4 separate regions of the Homo sapiens genome follow, and all the other regions are linked to region 4. The links are contacts of gene promoters, found by promoter capture Hi-C in blood cells and fetal thymus (Javierre and others, 2016). All regions are on one chromosome and are shown on one strand. The core of a region is centred on a gene start or on the middle of the fragment in contact, and the rest is flanking DNA. Distances in the headings are between cores, read along the strand shown. Region 1 holds the start of GEMIN4 (gem nuclear organelle associated protein 4). Region 2 holds the start of TLCD3A (TLC domain containing 3A). Region 3 holds the start of GLOD4 (glyoxalase domain containing 4). Region 4 overlaps DOC2B (double C2 domain beta).

Evidence for each region. Contacts are between HindIII fragments. The CHiCAGO score rates a contact against its expected background, and 5 or more counts as called.
Region 1: the fragment with the promoter of GEMIN4 here is called in contact with a fragment that was not itself captured in region 4 in 5 of 17 cell types (neutrophils, M0 macrophages, monocytes and 2 more); the score reaches 12.6 in neutrophils.
Region 2: a contact is called between the fragment with the promoter of TLCD3A here and a fragment that was not itself captured in region 4, in 2 of 17 cell types (neutrophils and monocytes). The highest score is 6.9, in neutrophils.
Region 3: the fragment with the promoter of GLOD4 here is called in contact with a fragment that was not itself captured in region 4 in 7 of 17 cell types (neutrophils, endothelial precursors, M0 macrophages and 4 more); the score reaches 12.7 in neutrophils.

Annotation. Positions count from the first base shown.
Region 1 is chr17:750,188-753,662 of GRCh38, forward strand. It overlaps GEMIN4 (gem nuclear organelle associated protein 4), which reads right to left and starts at 2,077. Exons shown (of 2, transcript NM_015721.3): 1 at 1,946-2,077. The coding sequence starts at 1,955. It also overlaps the pseudogene DBIL5P. RefSeq lists an enhancer at 1,357-1,416 and silencers at 1,597-2,016, 2,197-2,456. The HindIII fragment of the contact is 5,891 bases long and covers 1-3,383 here.
Region 2 is chr17:731,045-734,641 of GRCh38, forward strand. TLCD3A (TLC domain containing 3A) reads left to right here and starts at 1,552. Exons shown (of 5, transcript NM_024792.3): 1 at 1,552-1,725; 2 at 2,054-2,137. The coding sequence starts at 1,604. It overlaps LOC124903893 (a long non-coding RNA gene), which reads right to left and starts at 1,336. Exons shown (of 2, transcript XR_007065572.1): 1 at 1,135-1,336. RefSeq lists silencers at 1,029-1,508, 1,529-1,798, 1,869-1,968. The HindIII fragment of the contact is 13,049 bases long and covers 1-3,392 here.
Region 3 is chr17:780,166-783,608 of GRCh38, forward strand. It overlaps GLOD4 (glyoxalase domain containing 4), which reads right to left and starts at 2,115. Exons shown (of 9, transcript NM_016080.4): 1 at 2,001-2,115. The coding sequence starts at 2,090. MRM3 (mitochondrial rRNA methyltransferase 3) reads left to right here and starts at 2,188. Exons shown (of 4, transcript NM_018146.4): 1 at 2,188-2,527; 2 at 2,918-3,162. The coding sequence starts at 2,214. RefSeq lists enhancers at 1,046-1,145, 2,146-2,495, 2,167-2,715. The HindIII fragment of the contact is 3,821 bases long and covers 1-2,500 here.
Region 4 is chr17:150,006-153,330 of GRCh38, forward strand. All of the region lies in intron 6 of DOC2B (double C2 domain beta), which reads right to left. Among named protein-coding and RNA genes, the nearest start is that of SCGB1C2, 14 kb to the left of the region's middle. The HindIII fragment of the contact is 3,739 bases long and covers 204-3,325 here.

The DNA.
Region 1 (3,475 bases), core at 827-3,326, 600 kb after region 4:
CCATCTCCGAAAAAAAAAAAGGGATGTGATCTTGGTCAGATTGCTTCTCCAAGCCTTCCTTCTGCATATGTGGGGATAATACAGACTTCATGTTATGCCTTTGGGGATCATGTGATATATACCAGTCAAGCCCTTGCTAGTGGGTTGGCACTGCTATCTCCTGACCCCATCTCCCCGGGACGCTATGATGGATAAATGAGATAGAGCTACAGTAAGAATCCAGTTACAGAGTCTAATTAGGTGCTCAGTAAATGTTGGTTTCCCCAAACCTTTTCATGGTTGGCAAGACCAGAATCTTGTCACTATTCTTTGCCTCCCCCAGCTCAGAAACATCAAAGGATGTAGGTCTTTATCAGGTATGTTTCCTTTGGCCCAGAAACTAAAACGAGGGTGCAAACACTGCTCCCTATTCCTCATTCCTGAGTCATCTCCCCTTTCCCAGGAGTGAGAGATGCTACTCCTTCCTCAGTCTGTCATGCCCCCAAGAGCTCATATTCCCCATTTTCACAGGCCAGACACCAGCAGAGAAAACACTGACTCCAGGAGACTAAGGACCATCTTACCCCTCCCACCATTTATGGGAGCGGCAGCAGGCCAAGGGCTCAGCACTATGTAACCCACTTGTGGAGGCAATCCATCTCATCTCACAGTGGCTGAGACCGACTCCCAGGGAGGGTTACGCTGCGAAGGGGACCTCCCTGGGGGTTACCGCCCTTCTTTCTGGCTCAGGAGGCTCTCCCAGGGTCCCAAAATATAGTCCCTCCTGACGCTGTAAATTTAATTTTATTGCATTATTGGCTTAGTTGAGCAGATGTTTGGCCCTAAACACCTGCCTTCCAGGCGCATTAAGTACGCACAGTTTGAAGTAGTAAGTCCCAGGGCGGTTACTAGCTGGAAAATACTCCGGTACTCTATCATGGATGGTTAACTAGTGCTTGCCACAGCCCGCTTCTTAGGTTTATTAAGCACCTACTCCATGCCAGACACTGTGCTAGGTGGTACACAGGTAAGATCTCTTCTATTCACAATCACCTTTTGAGGACTAGTATTCCTGCTCTAGAGATAAGGACACTGAGGCGCAGAAACGATTTGCTGAGGGTGTCCCAGCCTGAATGTGGTGGGGCTGGGAAGCAATTACGGCTGAGGGGCTCCAAGCCCTTAGAGCTCTGCCATTCCGCTCCTGAAAAGCTGTCTGGGGGCGGGGACCAGACCATTTCCCCCCAGCCTACTACTGCTGACACATCTCGGGGTGCCTCACCCCCAGCTCTCCCAGAACAGCCTCCTGGTCTTAGCAGCGTGTGCCAAGATTTAGCAGGGAGCATCTAGTTCCTATGGGCTCCCTCCCAGACCTTGCCTGTAAGATTCTGAATCCGGACGCACGCAGGTTCACAAAGTGATACCTCAGGAGCGCAGCCGCCCCCACCGCGGGTGTGACCCGCGCAACCCCACAAGGGACACTGTACCTCGGCGATCTCAATGCAAAGTCGCCCAAAACTCAGTGGGGAGACACACTTCCATTCTCCCCGCTCTGTCGATGAGGAAACGTCATGAGCGTAAGACACTTGGAGCGTTAAGACACTTGCTCAAGAACGCAGCTGCCGTTCAGGAAATGAGGCCGTCGGGGCGCCCAGGGGTGCTCGGAGGGAGCCCGTTTCCCAAAGCACGTGCGCGAGCCCCGGGCGCTTCCAAGGGCTCTAACTTCACGTCTGCTCCGTGTTTTCAAGCGCAGGGGGCCGGAGGCGGCAAGACGCGGCCCAACGCGCGGCGGGACCCGGACCACCCCCCGCCAAGGCCACCCCGGGACCCCTAGACCCGCCCCGACGCGGGGGACGTTTCGGTCCGGGCCCGCGCGAGCGTGCGCGACAGGAGGAGACGCGACGGGGCAGCACCGCTCTGGTGGCGCATTGCTGGACGCAGCCCGGGGCCGGGGAGCCGCGGCACCCACCTAGGTCCATGGCGGCGACGCCGGCGGCTGCGCGGGGCTAACGCCCCCTCCCCTCCGAGAACTCGAACGCGGCGCGGGACGCACGGCACGATGGGAGACGCAGGAGCCACGGCGGCCGCGCTTAGGCCTGCTCACAACCTCCGCCCGGCCCCGCCCACAGCCTCCGCCGCGCACGCGCAGTCCTCACGAACGAGCGCGCCAAGCGCACAGCGCCGCCTTCCGGCAGAGCCCTCCCACCAGCCCTCAGGTACCCGGACGTCGCTCACTAGACCCCTCCGCACCGTCCCCTGCCCGGCCCCTCTTCCGGGGTCCCAGCGGGTCGGGCTCATGATTCCCCGGCCCCGCATTCACCCTCACCCGGTAACCCCGGGCGTGCCCCGCACACAGTTCACCCCCACCGAGCGCCTCCCCCGGGACGCCCACCACCCAGCGCGGCCGCACCACGCGAGGCTTCCACTCCCACCCGCCCAGCTCGCGCCACATACAGTCCCTCAACGCGCTCCTGCCGCGCCGCCCCCTCCAGACAGCAGCGTTCCGGATCCTAGACGCTTTTTGACGGCTGGTCCTCCCCAGAAAATGCGCCGTGTGAGCCCAAACATGGTGGGGTTTACGCTGGACCCCGAGCTTGCAATCTGTGCTTGACAAAACACAAACATCGCGTGCCTGTCTCCTCCCCCTGAGATCGAGTAGTAACAGCCACTCCAACTCTCCACCTCCAGCTTCTAGCACCAGGGACCGCCTCCACCACCCCATGTGCCAAGTGGAGTTCGAGCTGCGCGGCCCTCAAGCAGCTGAAGGGTCCCGTGAGCGATCAGGAGAAGCTGCTGGTCTACGGCTTGTACAAACAGGCCACCCAGGGCGACTGCGACATCCCCGGCCCTCCGGCCTCAGACGTGAGAGCCAGGGCCAAGTGGGAGGCTTGGAGCGCGAAAAAAGGGGCGTCCAAGATGGACGCCATGAGGGGCTACGCGGCCAAAGTGGAGGAGCTGACGAAGAAGGAAGTGGGGGGCGTGGAGCGCGAACAAAGGGGCGTGCAAGATGGACGCCATGAGGGGCTACGCGGCCAAAGTGGAGGAGCTGACGAAGAAGGAAGTGGGGGGCGTGGAGCGCGAACAAAGGGGCGTCCAAGATGGACGCCATGAGGGGCTACGCGGCCAAAGTGGAGGAGCTGACGAAGAAGGAAGTGGGGGGCGTGGAGCGCGAACAAAGGGGCGTCCAAGATGGACGCCATGAGGGGCTACGCGGCCAAAGTGGAGGAGCTGACGAAGAAGGAAGTGGGGGGCGTGGAGCGCGAACAAAGGGGCGTCCAAGATGGACGCCATGAGGGGCTACGCGGCCAGAGTGAGGAGATGAGGAAGAAGGAGGCTGGCTGAGGGCTCCTCGGGAATGGAAAGGGCTTCTTAGACCTTGATGGCTGAAATGTCCTGAAACTGTCGCAAGCTTAGCCGAGACATCAATAAATCACTTAAACTGCATGAGAGTGACTGCTGTTGGAAAGGAGAAACTCGGTGACTGAGTGCTGGGGAGGCG
Region 2 (3,597 bases), core at 302-2,801, 580 kb after region 4:
ATCACTAACTGCCGTGTTAAAGTAATTTAACTGGCACCTAACAGAAATCATCTGCCACTTTGTAAAAGTCATAGACTCATAAGAATCTAGAGCTGGAAGACCGTTAAAGAGCTAGTGATCCAGCCTCCCTCTCATTTCACGGACCAGCAAATCGTGGCCCAGAGAGCCGAGCCCAGCTGTTCCGAAGTCCTCATACGGGATTTTGGTCAGCATTTTGCATGACGGTGATCTGAGGAGACCCGTCATACCTTTCATTTGTAGTAACATAAATGAACTGTATTTCCCACCCCCTACGTTTGTTAGCTGAGGAAGATACAGACCAAAGCAAAATAAAGCTGGTAGTTCCTAAAGGACAGAAGCCAATGATACTGAAATTCCTGTCTTCATCCATGTGATTGGTGCTTGGCACAAATGAAATGTATTCCAATTCATTCAAGTTTAGACGCCTGTCCCGATAACTGTTTTTTTGTTTGTTTGTTTGTTTGTTTTTTGAGACAGAGTCCTGCTCTGTGGCCCAGGCTGGAGTGCAGTGGCGTGATCTCGGCTCACTGCAACCTCTGCCTCCCAGGTTCAAGCGATTCTCCTGCCTCAGCCTCCAGAGTAGCTGGGACTACAGACAGGCACCACCACACCTGGCTAATTTTGTATTTTTAGTAGAGACGGGGTTTCACCGTGGTGGTCAGGCTGGTCTCGAACTCCTGACGTCAAGTGATCTGCCCGCCTCGGCCTCCCCAAGTGCTGGGGTTACAGGCGCGCCCGACCCCGATACTTTTAAATAACGACACGTTGTGAACAACACCACAGTCCCTACGCCTCTGGATGGTGTCTCCGGATAGATCCAAAGCCGAGAGGCAGTAAGAGCCTGCAGCCTCCACAGTCCGCCTCCTGGTGCAGGTGGAGAGGGGCTGCTGGAGGCCCCCGGACCTCACGCTTCCTGAGGGCCACCCCGGAGCGGCTGCAGCCGCTGGCGGCACCGGGAAAAGCATCTCGGCCGTGCGGGGAGAGGCCACATCCTGAGGCCTCCCACCGAGAAGCACCAGGGCTTGGTGGACGGGGCCCGCGAACCCAGGGCCACACGCCGCCTCCCTCCTTCCTTCCCCGCGGGCCTCGCCCCACCCCGGAGGGGGTTCCTACCTGGCTTCCTCGGCCCCGCGCCCACCCCGCCCCTTCGCCCGGGGCCGGCGAGAAGAGCAGGTCGGGGAGGGGCGCGTCCGCTGACGGAACAGAAGCCGGGAGCCGCGGCCCTTCCCGCCTCCGCCTGGGCCCCGCGGCCGCTCGGGAGGGAGCGGCGGACTCGGAACGCGCGCGCGCCGCGGCCCCGGCCACAGCCGCCGCCTCGGTCCCCGCCTCCGCCCCCGCCCACCCGCCCGCCGGGGACGCCGGGGAACCCTCCGGGCCCAGGGACCGCGAGAGACCCCGCCCCGCCCTATCGCAGCCGCCGGGCCTGGTCACGCGCAGAGCCGCGCCGCGGGATCGGGGCCAGCGCCGGGCGGAGGCGGGACGGGGACGGGGGCGGAGGGTTGAAATCGCGCGGCCGGGCCGGGGCGCGCCGAGCCGAACCCAGCCACGCGGCGCCAGCGAGGCGGCCGGACCCGCAGCCCCGATGCTGCTGACGCTGGCCGGGGGCGCGCTCTTCTTCCCGGGGCTCTTCGCGCTCTGCACCTGGGCGCTGCGCCGCTCCCAGCCCGGATGGAGCCGCACCGACTGCGTGATGATCAGCACCAGGTACCGGCGCCGCCGAGACGCCCCCCGAGGCCCGGGGCGCTGCCCACCGCACCCCACCCGGCCGCGGGGCCCAGGGCGGAAAAGGGGGGCGGCAGGAAGCCCGGGGGCTGCTCCCTCCGCGTCCCGGCGGCCCGAGTTTCCGAAGCCCCTCCGCGTCCTCCCCTGGCGGGAGCGGGGCCGGGGCGGGCGGGAATGGCCGATGAGCCTCCGGAGCCCGCTCCCCACATCTGCCTGCGGCTGGGGAGAGTCAGGCCGAAGGGCCGGGCCGGGCTCCCTGCGGTCCTCGGACCGGACTGAGCGCGCGCGCTGTTCTCTCCGCCCGCGCTAGGCTGGTTTCCTCGGTGCACGCCGTGCTGGCCACCGGCTCGGGGATCGTCATCATTCGCTCCTGCGACGACGTGATCACCGGCAGGTAAGAGCCCGGGCCGGGGCCTTGTTGCAAATGTCACATTTCAGTAGCTCGCAGGCTCTGGCTCTCGCAGCACACGCGCTCAGAAAGCTGACTAATGGGAAAAGCTGGCACCACAATGGGCTCCTTCTTCCTCTCCGGAGTCTTCGGGCACCCCCAGCTTAGGAGAAAGTCCACGGAAATGAGGGAGGACGACAGAGTCGGAGTCTGATTTCAGGTGGTGTGAGCCAGGGATCCAGGTCCTTCATGGAAGAGATAAGCGTGGAAGCATTTACGACTGGGAGTGTGGCTTGATTCTTGCAGTTGGCTTCACTGGGTTCTCACTCTGGAGCATCACTGGCTAACAGACGTCCAGTGTGGTTAGCAGAGCCCCCTCCATGGAAAGGAACCAACCCACCACCCCCTTCCACGCAAACGCCGCTCTTGCTTTTCCTGCAGATTTGCTAAAGGTGATTGAGAGGTTCCCAGCGCTTAGAACACGGACTTGTACGTCTATCAGAGGTCAGTCCAGAGGCAGGTCAGGAAATGTGCACCTATCTGCAGTTCCAGTGAAACAAATCATAAATTAAGACCAGAATAGTCGACTTTGTACAGTAGTTAGACCTGGACAATGGTGGTGCTTTTATTATTTCAAGCCTTTTTTTTCCCCACCGGTCTTGCTGGAATCACACTCACTTTCTCCCAAGTTGAAGGACCACAGTCGGATGTGCAGGAAGTTGAACGGCCTTTCCAGGCCCTGCTCTCCTGTGGGCTCTGCCAAGTCCTGCTTCTCACCTGCTGAGACTGAACTGCGAGGGGCCTGAGCAAGCTGTCCGTCTCACTCTAGCCTGCGGTCTTACCTGGGATCAATCCTGCTGTCATGATTTTTGTGCTTTTCTTCTGCCTTTTTAAAAACAAAACTGGCTATTGGCGATGAATAAGTAGATGCTACGATAGATCAAGTGACATCGATTGTAGACACCAAAGGTTAATATTGGTGTGGCTGGGTACAATTTTTCTTCTTCTTCTTCTTCTTTTTTTTTTAAAGACAGGGTCTCACTATGTTGCCCAGGCTGGTCTTGAACTCCTGGGCTCAAGTCATTTTTCTGCCTCACCCTCACAAAGTGCTGGGATTACAGGCATGAGCCACCACACCCAGCAAATTTTTTACTTTTTTTTTTTCCTGTCGAGACCTCAGGCTGAGGTGCAGTGGCATAATGACAGCTGACTGTAGTCTTGAACTCCAGGGTTCAAGCCACCCGTCTTCCTTAGCCTCCCAAGCTTGGACTACAGGCACACACTACTACACCTGGCTAACTTTTTTTTGTTGTTGTTGGTAGAGACAGGGGTCTCCCTGCGTTGCCCAGGCTGGTCTTGAACTCCTGGGCTCCAACGATCCTCCTGCCTGGGCCTCCCAAAGTGTTGGGATTATAGGCGTGAGCCACTGCACCCAGCCAAAAAAGGCCTTTCAGGGTTCATATACT
Region 3 (3,443 bases), core at 865-3,364, 630 kb after region 4:
CATAAAAAAAATAAAAAATAAAAAATAAAAAAATCCTTATTGATATCCTTCCTTAATAACACCAAAAAAGCACATGCCTAAAGCACAAAGCACTGATCCCATCACCACCCTGTTTAAGAACATAAGTGAGCTCCCATCTTACTGCAGCATAAAATCCAAATTCTTTAGCATAGCATTCAAGATACTATTAGAAGCAATGCCGACCTGTCCATCCTGATATCCCATCTCCTTAACTTCAACTAAGCAACCTCAACTAAAGGCACATAAAACCAGCGGCTTCGCAAACATGTGCCATCTCCGCACTGGCTCTTCAGTTTTACTATGTAGCTCCTCCTCTCATCTACCTGTGGATATCCTATCTTTAGACGTCAACTCGAATCCTGGCTAACACGGTGAAACCCCGTCTCTACTAAAAATATTTTTAAAAATTAGCCGGGTGTTGTGGTACGCGCCTGTGGTCCCAGCTACTCGGGAGGCTGAGGCAGGAGAATGGTGTGAACCCGGGAGGCTGAGCTTACAGTGAGCCGAGATCGCGCCACTGCACTCCAGCCTGGCGACAGAGCAAGACTCCACCTCAAAAAAAAAAAAAAAAAAAAAAGTCAACTCGAATACAAGGTCTACATGAATTATTTCCTCATCACCCAGGTTGGAAAACCGCTCCTTCTTTTGTATTTTTATAATAGTGGCTAACACTTATATAATCTACTATTACCGATATGTTAAATACTATACATATAATAAGGTGTTGAATCTTTTTTTTTTTTTTTTTTTTGAGACGGAGTTTTGCTTTCGTCATCCAGGCTGGAACACAATGGTGCGATCTCGGCTCACTGCAACCTCCGCCTCCCAGATACAGGCGATTCTCTTGCCTCAGCCTCCCGAGTAGCTGGGATTACAGGCGTGTGCCACCATGCCCGGCTAATTTTTGTATTTTTAGTAGAGACAGGGTTTCACCATGTTGGCCAGGCTGGTGTCCAACTCCTGACCTCCAGTGATCCACCCGCCTTGGCCTCCCAAAGTGCTGAGATTACAGGCGTGGGCCACCGCGCCGGCACGTGTTTAATCTTTGCAACAACCTTTTGATCGACGAGGAAATACTAACAAGGGACAGCTCTGTGGTTTCTGCTATCGAAAGTTTGGTGGTTTTTCACTATCAAATTCTGACTTCCATTACCATCATCTACGTACAAATCCAGTTCCAACTCCCACCCCAACCCAGGCCATGAGCTCTAATGGAGGATATATATCAGGGTCATTTGCACCTTTGTTGCCAAAACTCAACGTAGTACCCTGAAAATAGCAGATATTTTAAAAATGACCTGACGAATTCAGATCCCCGTCTATTGCACCGTCTATACACTAAACCGCGCTCTTGCACCTTTCAAGTCTTCCTTAGTGGTGTGTTCCCTACCTCCCTGGCTTATCAAAGGAGGTCCCCAAAACCCAGTTCCCCAACCAACTGAATCCTGCAAATAACAGCTCCTCAGGACCCGAGACAGACCGCTTCTGGGTGCTGTTGAAAAGCAGATGGGTTGAGAGTTGGAGCATATATTCAGAGACTGAGTATCCGAAACGGACTATTCAGACCAGCCTTGCTAGAAGCAGAACTCTGAATACGCTGATTTTATCTACATCAAAGGCTCCAAACCGGAAAACACAAATATTAACTAGAAAGCATTATATAACATTTTATTTACCGTCTTTTCCGGTAGACGGTAAGCTCCACAAGGGCGGGGCTCAATAAACGTTTACGAGTGGCTTAAATGAAAGGACGTGCGTGGGCACACCGCGGGGACTAATCGTGTTAGGCCCTTCTCCAAGGCCTATGATCCCCAACGGCAACTCGCCACGCTCCTGAAGCTGAACACCGCGCAGGGCCTAAGGTCGGACACCCTCCGGCTTAGGTTCACGACACACCCATTTTCCCCTCCCTCCGCCAGGGCCGGCTCGGGCGCCGGTTCCAGCCTCGCGCGCCAGCCCCTGTCGGCCCCGGCCTGCACCTTCATCCCCAGGACGTCCCGATAGAAACGCGCCGTCTGGAAGCGGTTTCCCACTTTGAATACGAAGTGCAGAGCTCTGCGAGCAGCCATGATTCCCGCCGCACGCAGCCGTCACGCGCACCGTACAGCCCAGTCCACGAAGGGCGCCACGGGCCGTGACGTCACTAGCCGCCGACGGCGCGCTTTCGTGACGCAGCCCGGGTCTCAGGGAACATGGCGGCGCTGGTGAGACCCGCGAGGTTTGTCGTGCGACCGTTGCTGCAGGTGGTCCAGGCTTGGGACCTTGACGCGAGGCGCTGGGTCCGGGCGCTGCGGCGGAGCCCAGTGAAAGTGGTGTTTCCTTCCGGAGAGGTGGTGGAACAGAAGCGCGCTCCTGGGAAGCAGCCCCGCAAGGCACCATCTGAGGCCAGTGCCCAGGAGCAACGAGAGAAACAACCGCTCGAGGAGTCCGCATCCCGCGCTCCCAGCACCTGGGAAGAGTCTGGGCTTCGCTACGATAAAGCTTATCCCGGGGACAGGAGGCTGAGGTGATGTGGTTCTTGAGCCTGTCGAATGTTCTCGTTTCCCTTCCCGTCGCACAGCGGAACCTTAACCTCCTTCCGATGGAGGACTTCTTCCAGTACAGCCCGCTGGTTTTTGTATTATGCACAGAGGGCCGAATAAGCGTCTTTGGAATTAGCTTCTGTTTCTCCTTAGCTCTTTGTTGTTGTTTTTGTTTCACCATGTTAGCCAGGCTGATCTGGAACTCCTGACCTCAGGTGATCCGCCCGCCTCGGCCTCCCAATGTGCTGGGATTACAGGCGTGAGCCACCGCGCCCGGCCCTCTCCGTAGCTCTTTATTTCTGTTACAACTAAGCGTGTCTCAGTAACAAGGATGTTGATAGTTACCTGTTTTTTTTTTTTATTTCCATCTACAGCAGTGTAATGACAATAGTAAAGTCCAGGCCATTTCGGGAAAAACAAGGGAAGATCCTGCTGGAAGGTCGCAGGCTCATTTCAGACGCTCTCAAGGCTGGAGCTGTGCCAAAAATGTTCTTCTTTAGCCGTCTAGAATACCTAAAGGAGTTGCCAGTCGATAAGCTGAAAGGTGTCAGCCTCATTAAGGTGAAATTTGAGGATATCAAGGATTGGTCCGACCTCGTAACGCCACAAGGAATAATGGGTTAGTGATTACCCAGTGTATCTTTTTTTTTTTTTGTCTTGTTCTGTCACCCAGGCTGGAGTGCAATGGCGCGATCTCGGCCCACTGCAACCTCCGCCTCTCGGGTTCAAGGGATTCTCTTGCCTCAGCCTCCGCAGTAGCTGGGATTACAGGCGTCTGCCACCATGCCCGGGTGATTTTTGTATTTTTAGTAGAGGTGGGGTTTCACCATGTTGGCCAGGCTGACGTCGAACTTGTGACCTCAGGTGATCCTCCTGCCTCGGCCTCCCAAAGTGCTGGGA
Region 4 (3,325 bases), core at 823-3,322:
CCACAGCCACTAAGGCCTTAGGCTCTGATGCAGAACAGCTGTCTTCCTCTGAGGCTCAGAGAGGGGGAGTGACTTGCCCAAGGTCACACAGCCTGCAAGCACAAGCGTGGTGCTTGAAAGCCAGGCTCAGACTCCTTTCTCTATGACAGGGAGGTCATGTGCAGGCTGGAGAAGGGGACAAGAGGTCCCCAACTTCTTTGCAAAGCTTCTCACCCTGTTCCTGCATAGATAATTGCATGACAATTGCCTTGTCCCTGCTGAATGTGCTCTGGGGTCTCTGGGGTCTCACCCACGACCAACTCCCTGGGCCTGGCACCAGGGAGCTTAACAAACATCTGTCCAGCGAATACCTGCATCCCTAGAAGTGAAGCCACCGCCCAAAGACACGCCCATGTCCAGCTTAACCTGCATCCCTAGAAGTGAAGGCACCGCCCAAAGACACGCCCATGTCCAGCTTATTCTGCCCAGTTCCTCTCCAGAAAGGCTGCATGGTTGACACACAGTGCCTGCGACAAAGCTGAATGCTATCATTTAAAAACTCCTTGCTGGTTTGAGAGGCAGAAAATGATATCTCATAGTTGCTTTACTTTGCATATTTTAAAATTGTGACTTTCATGGCATAAATAATACTGGTTTATTACAGAAGCACTAGAAAATGCATGTGGACAAAAGTTGGGATTAGGAGAGAGAAATGAAGACATATGTCCACACAAAAACCTGTTCATTGCAGCTTTCTACCATCACCAAAAATTGCAAACAACCACACGCCCTTCAACTGGGGAACTCATCAACAACAAACTTGTGGTTTACCCACACAATGGAAGACCACTTAGCAACAAAAAGGACCAAACTCCTGGTACATGCAACTGACAGATGAATCTCAAACGCATTCCTCCGTGTGAAAGAAGCCGGACTCACAGGGCAACACACTATCTGACTGTTTCATGGGAAAGTCTGGAAACGGCAACACCATTGAGACAGAAAACAGGTGAGTGGTTGCCTGGGGCCAGGGAACTTTCTGGGGTCATATTCTCTGTGTTGATTCTGGTGGTGGAAACAAGACTGTCCCAGCCTGGGTGATACAGCGAGACCCCATCTCTACCAAAAAATTAAAAATTAGCTGGGCATGGTGGTGCATGCCTGTAGTCCCAGCTATTCACAGTGCTGAGGTGGGAAGATGCTTGAGCCCAGGAGTTCAAGGCTGCAATGAGCTATGATTGCGCCACTGCACTTTGGCCTGGACAACAGAGCAAAACCCTGTCTCTAAAAAAAGAAAAGAAAAGAAAAACTCACTGGATATGAATGATACAGGTTGAGGATCCATTATCTGAAATGCTTGGACCAGATGTTTTGAATTTTGGATTTTTTCATATTTTGTAATCTTTGCAGTATATTTACCAGTTCAGCATCCCTAACTCAAAAATTCAAAAATCTGAAATCCCAAACGCGCCAATAAGCATTCCCTTTGAGCGTCATGTCGGTGCTTGGAATGTTTGGGGTTTTGGATTTACAGCTTTGGGACGCTCAACCTGTACCTCAATAAACCTGATTTTAAAAAAGTTTGGGGGGATTCCCCTAAGCCCGCCACCCGGAGACAGCGGATTTCCTTAGTTACTTACTATGCTCCTTGGCCATTTCTCTAGGTATTGGTATATTGTGTCTGCTGTGAACTGTCCTTGGCCTGTTTGGTGACGGGTGAGGAGCAGGGACAGAAGGGTCCTGCGTGCCCTGCCTTCACAAGCCCCTGGAAGGAAAGTTGTTTTGGGATCTCTGCACCCTCAGCCTGGACAACTTGTGCCCATCTGGTGACCCCTCACTCAGCCACCAGACTTCCACGACAGGCTCCAGCCTCGGCACCTTCAGCCATGGACAGTTCCGCCAGCGTTGCCCTCTGTTCTGCTGTTTTCTCTACCAGAAGTGCCCTTCCCTCCTCACCTGACCACTCTGGGGAAATCCCTCAGCACCCTCCCTGAGCATACCCTACTCTGGCACAAGCCCACCCTGCAAAGCCCCTGAGGCCCGCCCTGTGGCGTCTCTCCCTCCCTTGCTGTCAGGACAGTGGTCCTGGCCACCGGGGCTCACGGAGCCGCCCTGTGCCGTGTACCTCTGAGCCCTCTGCACAGTGCCTTCTGCTTGCCTGTGGCTTTGAGAAGAAACCCCTTCTGGTTATACATAAGACAGCCAGAGAAGGGAGTTGCCCAGGGTGGCACAGCACGTTGCTGCCAGTTACTGCCATTTTCACGGGCATGAAATGGAGATAACAACAGGAGCGACCGCACAGGCTGCTGAGCGCGTCACACGCAGCCATCGCGCAGCTCAGGGATATTACGTGTAACTCGACATGTCAGCGATTGTCACAGGCACTGCTACTCCTGGGGTTTTCCATCAAACCCTCAAGAGCTGGGCCTGGGGTCAACTTCCGGCCTGGGGAAACTGGGGCAAGTATCACCAGAGATGAGCTTTATAAAAATAATGGTGCTAGCTGGGCATGGTGGCTTGCACCTGTAATCCCAGCACTTTGGGAGGCCGAGCTAGGAGGATCGTTTGAGTCCAGCAGTTTGAGACCAGCCTGGCCAATACGGCAAAACCCAGTCTCTACAAAAAATACAAAAAACAACTAGCCAGGCGTGGTGGTGCACACCTGTAGTCCCAGCTACTCAGGAGGCTGAGGGGGAAGGACTGCTTGAGCCCAGGAGTTTGAGGCTGCTGTGAGCTGTGATCGCATCACTGCATTCCAGCCCGGTGACAGAGTGAGTCACTGTCTCAAAAAAGAAAGGAAGAAATAAAGAAAACAAATAAAAATAATAGTGCAGACAAAAGGCCTTGACCCATCTAGCTTTGGCCCTCAGCATCAACCGCTAGATACGTCCCTCCCTTTCTTCTGGGGCACAGGTCACACTCTCTTCCAGGTCTAGGATGCAGCTGAGGGGTGCCCCTCTTACCATCTAATCTGTGCCCTTATTTCCTCTGCTTTAGTGAGGAAGAGGCCCCTGGTCCATGAAGGGGCCTTTCAGAGACGGGGACCCCTGAGGAGCCCCGAGCAGCAGCCGTCGTGTCTCACCCAGGGTGTCTGAAACAGATGTGGAGGTCTCGGGTGAGGCGTGGCTCAGATACAGGGAGTGGCCCACAGCTCGGCCTGTCTTTGAAAGGCCACGTGACCTGGCCCACGGCTGGCAGGTGGGACCCAGCTGCAGGGGTCCAGCAGCACCCACAGCAGCCACCTGTGGCAGGGAGGAGCTTGTGGTACAGTGGACAGGCCCTGCCCAGATGGCCCCCCGCCTGCCTGTGGAAGTTGACCAGACCATCTGTCACAGCAGGTAAGACT